Regions from separate parts of the Homo sapiens genome. Here region 1 is linked to region 2. Evidence: promoter capture Hi-C in human tissues and cell types (Jung and others, 2019). All regions are on one chromosome and are shown on one strand. Each heading gives the region's core, a stretch centred on a gene start or on the middle of the fragment in contact. The rest is flanking DNA. Distances are from core to core; before and after follow the strand shown. Region 1 has its middle 73 kb from the start of TCERG1L. Region 2 holds the start of TCERG1L (transcription elongation regulator 1 like).

What was found. The method cuts DNA at HindIII sites, captures the fragments that hold promoters and counts their contacts. A contact is called where the count stands out against the background at its distance.
Region 1: a fragment that was not itself captured here is called in contact with the fragment with the promoter of TCERG1L in region 2 in 2 of the 25 tissues and cell types used here (hippocampus and spleen).

The regions. Positions count from the first base shown.
Region 1 is chr10:131,382,327-131,387,478 of GRCh38, reverse strand. No RefSeq gene overlaps it. Among named protein-coding and RNA genes, the nearest start is that of TCERG1L, 73 kb to the right of the region's middle. The HindIII fragment of the contact is 4,705 bases long and covers 885-5,152 here.
Region 2 is chr10:131,310,304-131,315,196 of GRCh38, reverse strand. It overlaps TCERG1L (transcription elongation regulator 1 like), which reads left to right and starts at 3,476. Exons shown (of 12, transcript NM_174937.4): 1 at 3,476-3,903. The coding sequence starts at 3,562. LOC101927461 (a long non-coding RNA gene) reads right to left here and starts at 3,341. Exons shown (of 3, transcript XR_242763.6): 1 at 2,923-3,341; 2 at 918-1,063; 3 at 1-541. The HindIII fragment of the contact is 8,672 bases long and covers 1-4,893 here.

The DNA of each region.
Region 1 (5,152 bases), core at 1,988-4,487, 73 kb before region 2:
TGCTCAGAGCACCAGTGGTTTGTCAATGATGAGGATAGCTGCACTGCAGCTGGCACACAGCCAGTGTCCCCTGAAGTGGGAGTGGGCACAGGGATGGCCGAGGGGAGCCGGGCAGAGCTGGAGCCCTGGGGACAGCTGGGAGGGTGCACAGGGATCTCGGGGTCTCCAAGGGAAGCCGCTGCAGAGGAGCAAGAGAGACAGCGGGAGGCCCAGGCCACGGGCCATGGTTATGCTGCAGCCGAGGAGCTATTTCCATCACAAGAGGGAAAAACACAGCACACCGTGGGAGCCAACCCAGGTGCAGCAAAACACAGCTAGGTTTCGCTTAGAAACAAAAACACAAAAAAGAGGCCCCCTGCAAGTCCTCATACTTGTTCTAAGGGCAGGAGCTGGAGACTTGAAAAGGTGAGGGCAAAGAGAGACGACTGAGGAAGCCCAGGGAGCTGCAGGTGGGCTAACGCTGGGTGGGTGCTGGGCCAGCTTTGCCTTGAAGCTCCTTCACCAGCACTCCTCCCTCTGCTCCTCCCTCTGCGCCTCCCTCTGCTCCTGCCTCTGGTCCTCCCTCAGCTTTTCTTTCCACTCCTCCCTCCGCTCCTCCCTCTGCCCCTCTCTCCACTCCTCCCTTCACTCATGCCTCTGCTCCTCTCCTTTCTCTGCTCCTCCCTCTGCTCCTCCCTCTGGTCCTCTCTCGGATCCTCTCTCCACTCCTCCCTCTTGTCTTCCCTCTGCCCCTCTCTCCGCTCCTCCCTCCGCTCATTCCTCCATTCATCTCTCTTCTTCTCCCTCTGCTCCTCCCTGAATCCCTCTCCCTGCTCCTCCCTCCGCTTCTCCCTCTGCTCCTCCCTCTGTTCCTCCCTCTGGTCCTACCTCAGCTCCTCCCTCTTATCCTCCCTCTGCCCCTCTCTCTGCTCCTCCCTCTGCTCATTCCTCCATTCATCTCTCTTCTCCTCCCTCTGCTCCACCCTCAGTCCCTCTCCCTGCTCCTCCCTCTGCTCCTCCCTCTGCTCCTCCCTCTGATCCTCCCTCTGCCCCCTCTCTGCTCCTCCCTCCACTCCTCCCTCTGCTTCTTCCTCTGCTCCTCCCTCTGTCCTTCCCTCTGCTTCTTCGTCCGCTGCTCCCTCCACTTCTCCCTCCATTCCTCCCTCCGCTCCTCCCTCTGTTCCTTCCTTCTCTCCTACCTCTGCTCCTCCCTACCTCCTACCTTGCTCCTCCCTCTGGTCCTCCCTCAACTCTTCTCTCCACTCCTCCCTCTGGTTCTCCCTCTGCCTCTCCCTCTGCCTCTCTCTCTGCTCCTCCTTCAGCTCCTCCCTCTGGTTATTCCTCTGCTCCTCCCTCTGTTCCCCCATCTATCCCTCTCTCTGCTTCTCCCTCCGCTCCTTCCTCTGGTCCTTTCTCAGCTCCTCTTCACTCCTCCCTTTGCTCCTCCCTCTGCTTCTCCCTTTGCTCCTCCCTTTGCTCCTCCCTCTGCTTCTCCCTTTGCTCCTTCCTCTAGTCCTTCCTTAGCTCCTTTCTCCACTCCTCCCTCTGCTCCTCCCTCTGCCTTACTCTCCACTCTTCCCTCCACTCCTCTCTCTGCTCCTCCCTCCACTCATCCCTCTGCTCCTCCCTCTGTTCCTCCCTCTATCCCTGTCTCTGCTCCTCCCTCCGATCCACCCTCGGCTTCTCCCTCTTTTTCTCTCTCTGCTCCTCCCTCCACTTTTTCCTCTGCTCCTCCCTTCGCTCCTCCCTCTGCTCCTCCCTTTGCTCCTCCCTCTAGTCCTCCCTTAGCTCCTTTCTCCACTCCTCCCTCTGCTCCTCCCTCTGCCTTACTCTCCACTCTTCCCTCCACTCCTCTCTCTGCTCCTCCCTCCGCTCATCCCTCTGCTCCTCCCTCTACTCCTCCCTCTATCCCTCTCTCTGCTCCTCCCTCCGATCCACCCTCCGCTTCTCCCTCTTTTTCTCTCTCTGCTCCTCCCTCCACTTTTTCCTCTGCTCCTCCCTTCGCTCCTCCCTCTGCTCCTCCCTTTGCTCCTCCCTCTGCTTCTCCCTCCACTCCTCCCTCTGTTCCTCCCTCTGCTTTTCTCTCTGCTCCTCCTTTGGCCTCTCCCTTTGCCCCTCCCTCTGTGCTTTGCTGGTGTAAAAACAAATTCTGGTGACTTTTCCAGGCCATGAGTTCTGTCTGCTCCACAGACATGCAGAGTGGAAGGAAAACCACACAATACAACCAACGATGAAAGAACGGGTGAAGTTGATTACATCAACCATCTGTGACTCTTCTGGAATCCCTCAGCAGCAAGCTTTTCAGAATTCCTTAAGTCAAGCCAAATAGGATATTAAAAAAAAGGGGAGTTTAAAGTAATCATTGGGAGAATAAAAAAGACAAGAATAAGATAAGGATTTATTTTTATTTATGGGTCAAAAATCATATTTGACATGAAGTAATTTGTTTTACTGGGACTTATACACTTGAGAACAGATTGTGTGTGTGTGTGTGCATACGTGTACATGTGCATATGTTTCAGTGTGTGTTCGTATATGTGTATGTTTACTGGGACTTATACACTTGAAAACAGATTGTGTGTGTGTGCATATGTGTATGTGTGCATATGTTTAAGTGTGTGTTTGTATGTGTGTATGTTTTCATGCATGGATGGGTCTGTGTCTGTTTAGACACCTGGGCTTTTAACATTGTCAGGAAAATGAAAGTGTCAGAGCCCCTGGAGGCTCCTGGAATTCCCTGACTTATCCCCTGTGCGTGTTGGAGCGAAGGCTGGAGAGAAGGTGAGTGCTTGGCTGGTTCTCCAGGGCCCTGGGCTTTCCCAGTGGGAGTGTCAGCGTCCCCCACAGAGCCCCTGGCTCCGAACATGCTGCTGAAACACCGTTGTTATGCAGCGTTTTTCACTTAGAAACATTTCACATTGGTTAGCTCTAGCGAGAGTTTTAACTTTTTCCGGATAGTCATAGAGGCAGGATTGAGCAGTGATGAAGACCTCAGTCAAGTTCCCAGCTTAATACGCATTGATTAAAAACCTCTTCTTGACTCTTCTGTGTGGCCTGTGAGGTGGGACAAGAATCACCCTGCTTCCCAAGTTTGCATGGAAGAAGACTTTAGCAGAATATGAAAATATGGGGCTGGATGGCAGCTGATAACGATTGGCTATGAATAACATTAGCCAGTAATTCCAACTGGAGACTGCTATCCTCCGCTTTTACCTCAGAGATTATTAAATAGATAAAATGAGTTTTTCAGAATCTTTTAATAGTTATACATTATTCTAAGCTTTCAATTTCTATGCCTTTCTTTTCCCTTTGTGTTTATTTATATCTGACCATTTCCCCTCAACTCCAATACACCTTGTACTCAAATTGCTTATTTTTCCGCAGGATACCATTTCAGCCTCAGACATACAGTATCTGTAGCAAAGGCCTCAGACATTCTGGGAAAACCCAAATAGAATGTGCACAAGAGCTCAAGCTCAGGTGGCTCAGCTCCATGTCTGCAAAGCTGTGTAATTGCAGACTCCAGCTCCGAGTCTGGAAACAAAAACACAAGATGCAAACAATTTCTGGAAGGAGGCACACTGCATTTGGTTTTGGTGGCTACAGCTTAAGATTAGAGAGTGTTCACTATGAAAAATTTTTATAAAATTTCTAAATAACACTGAGGAGAGAAGAGAAATGCTACTCAAAGTAAATACTCCTTCCGACACTGGCACACACACACACGCACATATGAGCACCACCCTGAGTCACTTCAGTCCCTGGCCACCGCAGTGCAGGTTGAACAAACAGCAGATCCATAGCTGGCAACTGCTGAAAGAGCCATTGAGTGGGGAGGTGAAGAGTGTGGGCTTTGGGACCAGACAGGCCTGGGCTGAGCTCTAAGTTTTGCTATATGCCAGATATGTGGCTCTGGGCCTCTGTCTCCCCATTCATGAAATGAGCTGCTATGGCCTCATGGGTTATTGGGAAGCTTCTAGGAGATGGGACAATTTGCGTAGGAAGGATTTGGTAGGTGTGATCACATTTTGAGGGAGAATCAAACAGTTCTCTATTTCGTCCTAATTCTCAAAGCCGTGTGGGGACTCTCACGCCTGGATGAGGTGAGTGATGGTCCCAGTGTGCCTGGGACTTTCCTGGTTTTAAAATGGAAAGCCTGGCGTGCGGGAATCGGTCAGCCCCAGGCACGTGGGGATGGTTGGTCACCCTGTTTCCTTGGCACTCTCTACCTGCTCACATTTTCCCTCCCTCCTGGATCTGGGGATGGCCTGCTATTGTAAGACAAGTAAGAAGACGATGTGGAATAAGGGCTTTGGGACACAGTCTGGTTTGTTTCATTGATTGGTTTATAGTCAGGAATTATAATGGGCCATACCTTATTAAATGTTTATAATTGCTGTGAAACTCTTTATAATCGAAACAAGGAACAATTTATTGACACCAAAAGATTTGGACAGATGACTTTAACCTGCCTTTGATGGATTTTATTTTATTATTTTTGGCTCATCACCTTTATTTCTAGCATGTGGCATAAACCCTAAAAATACAATTGTCAAAATAAATATTTTCATTTAGATTATTTTCTTTTGTTCCAAAAGTTCGCAAAAGAAACACTGAACATTTCCCATTGTACCATCCAGTTTACATTCATCTGTTATGTTTTAATAGTTAATAGTTGTGGTGGGCAGGATAATGTCCCCCACCTAAGGTCGTCCTGTTCCAAAGTCCCAGAACCTGTGAATAAGTTGGGTTCCACGGAAGTGGGGAATTTGAGGCGGCAGATGGAATTACTATGGTTAATTAACTGCCCTTAAAGTCAGAAGATGAGCCTGGATCATCCAGGTGGGCCCAGTGTAATCACCAGGGTCCTTAAAAGGGGAAGGAGAGGCAGAAAAGAGTCAGAGAGGGGTGACCACCAGGCAGGTCAGAGGGAGGGAAGTGACCACCCGGCAGGTCAGAGGGAGGGAGGGGACCACCAGGCAGGTCAGAGAGAGGGAGGTGACCACCAGGATGGTGAGAGGGAGGGAGGTGACCCAGGAGGTGAGAGGGATAAGCGTCACTGCTCTGAAGGTGGAGGATGGGGCCATGAATCAAGGAATCCCGGAAACCCCTTGAAGGAGGAAAAGGTATGGAGTGGACTCCGCCCTGGAGCCTCAACTCTGCCCAGGAAGAC
Region 2 (4,893 bases), core at 2,227-4,726:
CCCTCCAGGTCAGCACGTCTTCGCCAACCTCTTGGCCCATGGTGCATCCCAGAGGGCTCCTCATCTCTGAGCACAGACTTTCCAGGCTCTCCCCAGTCTCACAGAACAGGGGGAGCCACTCTCACACCCTCCTGCTCCTCACCCTGCACTGAGTCAGGTGTCACACTGCTGATTCCTTCTCTGGGTCCTCGCTGGCACGGCTTTCATTCAGGGCCTCATCATCGCGCAGCTGGCGAGTGTTCAGAAAGGAGTTGGTCTGATTGGCAATTGCTTTGGAAAGAAGTTCTGGCAGCGTGGGCGGTGGGTGGTGCAGGGAACCTCCGAGGTGATATGCAGGGCCTAGACCTCCCTCCTGTTTCCCTGCTGTTTACTTTAACTCTGCAGGGCTGGAAGGAAATGTTTTCATCTCTCCCATTTTGGGATTCTATTAGGTTTTACTTAGAAAAACAAAATAAAATAACTTCCAAAAAGAAAAAAATATTCTATGGGCTTCAAAATCTTATTCCACTGATGTCTCTGAAACCTTCCCCATGATTTTTTCCTGAAAGGTAATAAACAATCGGGAACTCATTAGCACATGTAGGTAATTCACACGTTTTCCCTGCTGCGGATCTCCTCTTCCTAGGTGATATCCTGTCTCAGCTTAGCAGGAAATTTCTGCTGGTTTTGCCCAAATAACATGGAAAGACTTAAGGTTGTTTTTATTGGATAGGAGAGCTGGAGACTAGACTGTACCTAAGATGCTTTATAAAGCAAATTTCTCACTGATTTTTACAGGGAAACAAAGGGCGAGTTTATGGGGTGCCTGCCACCTGTCTGCCCAGGGCTGACCTCTGGGGGCACTCACAGGGAGGGAGATGTGCCTGCCAGCACACATCTCTCTGGCAGAGAGTCCCAGCTCAAAGCTAGACATTCACCTGGCTTCTGGTCCCCAGGAAGAAGGTGGCATCCTGCTTGTTTGTGTGACAGCTGTCTTCTTTGCATCTTCTTTGCCTTCGCTCTTTCAACCATCCTCAAGATGTACAAATGACATTTGCAGAACCGGTTCATGGAGGCGGTCCTTCTAAACAATCATTGAAATGAGTGTATCTATGAGGGGGCTTCTCCTATCCATGAGGGTGTAGAAGGTTCCCGGGTTAAACGGGATGAGAGGCAAACCTTGAAAAGAATCTGACAGAAATGAGAGCCAGGAGGAGGGGGAGAAGCCCTGTGCTGGGTCCTTGGCCCTAGCAACGATTAGTGGAAATGGCCGTGCCTGCGTCGTTGAGGGCTGTTTTCCCATAATTTAGCACACAGAATGGTACAGAAAAGGGCTCCCAAGCATTGTCATACAAAAGGAGAGTCAAGCTTGTGGCAGGAAATAGCAAGAGTTTAGGCCGCTTTGTGGTTGAGTCAAGAGCTGCTTTCGACTTTCCAGCTCTTCTTCAGAGCCAAGTAGTGGCTCAAGGGGTCCTGAGCTCAGAGCATCAGGAAGCCCGGAGGGGTGCTGGCAAAAACGGACTTCAGCAGAACCCTTTCTAGGACAGTGGGGATGGGGCTGGGATTCCCCAAAGGAGTGCTACAGCTCCCACAGACTGTGGCCAACCCTACCTTCCCAGGAACCTGGGGGCCACACACGCAAAACCCTGCTTTTGCAGAGAACAGCATGCAAGCCAGGCACGAGCACCCCTGGCCTTCTGTCTCTGCCTCCAAGCAGAAGGAAGGAGAATCTCCTGTGCAAAAGGGACTATGCGGTGGGGGAGGTGGGGGGTGGCAGGGGCATGTGAGCCTGCCTGGAGACGCCTCCCCAATATCCTGATCTGGCTCTGACCATTAAACTAACACATTTATAACACATGTGCACATACTAATATATGCACATAAATTAAGGGTGTAAGTGAATAGTAACAGCCTTCTAATGTGCAGAGCTTTCTGATTTTAGGTGAATAAAAAAAATGCCAGTACTTTTGCATCAAAGAGAGAGATAAACTTGCTAATTGAAAACTGGTTTTCGTGGAGGAAAATATGGAGGCGCCAGCTATGTAAATCAGCATATGCCCAGATCTAAAAGAAATCAGGCCAGGCCAAGAGGAAATTAAGCAAATCAGGATAATGAGGAAACAACCCTAGACGCAAATTAAAAGCACTCGGGTGCTTTAGGCCATCTCAGGAGGTTGGCAGTGGACAGGTGGGAGGTGATGCGAACACGGGTTTGGAGTACCAGGCGTGTCAGTGCCGCTGGGTGGGTGGGTGCCTGCTCTCCCACCCAGGTCAGGGAGGGTTTTTCATGCAAGTTCTTAAATGCATGGATCATAATGCTGCCTTTTGCATCCAGAAAGACCCTTCAAATGCCTCTAACAACACTGGTCTCGCGCTGGCATTAGCTGTGCTTGGGTTTCCTGGGTTTAGCGACCTAAGGGGTTTACAGCGCACGGAAGTCTCTGCCCAGCTGTCAGCGCGCGTCGCCAGGGGCTGCACTGAAGCTGTGGACCCGGGATGGGGAGGAGGCTGGCGGCCTCCGAAGCAGGGTCTACAGCGGGGGAGGGCTAGCGCCGTCTGGCGGTGGCTGCGCGTGGCCAGTGCGGACCCAGGCTCGGCTCGGCCGGCGCTGCCTGCGTGTGGTCCGGGCGGAGCGAGGGTCCTTGGAGCCCGGTTCGTCCTGGGTCCCAGGAAGCTCGGCGTGCAGCGTCAGAGGCCGCGTGTGCTGGGGGAGGGAGGAGTACAGACTGTGCCTGGGGGCATCCAGGACGAATTCACAGAGGGGTGGTCCTGCCCCACCCAGGGGGTGTCGTGGGCAAAGGCCCTGGGGCCACCTGCCTGGTGCCTTGGAGGGCGTAGGGCAGGAGCCGCCGAGGCCCGCGGGCCACTGTGGGGCGCGGAACTTCAGACCAGGCACCCGCGGCTCAACTTCCGGGCCAGGGGACCCGCGGGGGCCTTACGAACCTGTTTGGCCCATTTGTGCAACAGAAATCCGCCCGCGCCTAGCAGCGTCCGGGGCCGCCTGCGCCGGATCCGCAGCCCAGTACCCTCCGCGCCCTGGACTCCGAGGAGGCCAGGTAGAGAGCGGCTCGCGCGGTCCCCGTCTGCGCCCTCAGCCCCGCGCTGGGCAGCGGGACATGCCTGGCTCCGGCGCCGCCACCTCGGCTTCCGCTTGCCCTTGAGTGCGGAGCCCGGAGCCTCCCTCGCGGTGCGCTGGGTCCCAGAGGGCCAGAGGCCACCAGGGGGCCGGCATCGGCGGGAGCCCAGCCGGGCGCGCCCTCGGCCCTCTCCCACCCACGTCCTCCGCGGCCGCCCGGGTCCAGGGGCGCAGCGGGGAGGAGACCCCGGCCAGGGCCGGGGAGCGCGAGGGCGGGGCGGGGTCCGGCGGGGAGGGGCGCGGGCGGGCGGGGACCGGGGCGGGGGCCGGGTCCGGGGGCGGCGGCGGCGCGGGCGGGAGGAGGAGGAGCTTCCCGCGCGGGGCAGGGGCGGAGCGAGCGGCCGCGCCGCGGAGCCAAGTGAGTTCGCTCCGGAGCCGCGCCGCCGCCGGCCCAGCATCTCGGGCGCCCGCCGCCCCCGCCGCCGCCGTCAGCGCGGGGATGTAGGATGCAGGCGGGCGCCAGGTTCCAGCGGCGGCGGCGGCAGCTGCAGCAGCAGCAGCCCCGGCGGCGGCAGCCTCTCCTCTGGCCGATGGACGCAGAGCCGCCGCCGCCGCCGCCCTGGGTCTGGATGGTGCCGGGCTCGGCCGGGCTGCTCCGGCTCAGCGCGGGGGTCGTGGTTCCCCCGGTGCTGCTCGCCTCGGCCCCGCCGCCCGCGGCCCCGCTGCTCCCCGGTCTCCCCGGCTGGCCGGCCCCGAGCGAGCCGGTGCTCCCGCTGCTGCCGCTGCCCTCTGCGCCAGACTCCGCCGCCGCCGCCGCCGCGCACCCCTTCCCCGCGCTCCACGGGCAGGTAACGTGTCCCCGTCCCGCCTCGGCCCGGGTCGCCGTCTCCCCTGCTCCTGGGCGCGCCCTGCCCGGCCCGGCTCTGGCCTCCGGCTCGCGCGCCCTCCTCCCCGGCGGTCCTCGCCGCCCCAAACCCTCAGGACGGAGCCCGGCAGCCGTGCCTCGGCGAGAAAGTTCGTGCTTGGACGCCCGGTCGTCCACCTCCGCAGCTTTGGCAGGTGCCTCCGGGTGTCTGGACGGAGCCGTGGAGGGACCCGCCGCCCAGGCCCGCGTGGGGACCGCAGGGAACTCGCGCCACGCCGGGGGTCACTGTCCATCGCGAGGTGCTGAAGTGGCTCCGTGACCGCCGCGGGCCGTGGCTGACATCGCGGAGAAGTTAGGACTTTCACAGTCTCTGCCAGACTTGAAAGCAAGCTGGAAATCGATAGCTGTTTCAGCTGTTTCAGATTCTAATCTGGTTTGGGTTTTTCCCCCTTTCATTTGAAAATAGACTCAGGGCAATGCTTAAGAGAATTCCAACCGACGGAAGTGGCCGGGAAATCCTGCCTTCGGTACTGAGGGATGTTACCGGAGATTCCCCTGCCCCAGGCCTGCCGGAGTCCACCACATTCGCTAATGCCACACTGCACTTTAGAACTAGAGTTTGGCTTTTAAGACATGGGATTAAAAAGAAAAAGTGACTGAACCTTTGATAAATGGTGCAGCAGAGCTAGGCGGGCTGGTTTGGGCAAGATTCATTGTCAGCTAACTATGCAGATGCATTTAAATCAGGGAATAGCGTGCATTTTATTCCAAGGATTGACCTCATTAGCATATTCAAACGGGTGTTATGTTAGAATACACCATTTGATTAATTTAATTCCAATATTATCTTGTGAGCTTTTCTAAAAGATGTTGTTAAACTCCTGCTAAATTGGTCTTTAGACTTAATGATACATCACATATGCAGCACTGGATATTGTATTTTTATGTGTGATGCAGTTTATTTTGGATTTTA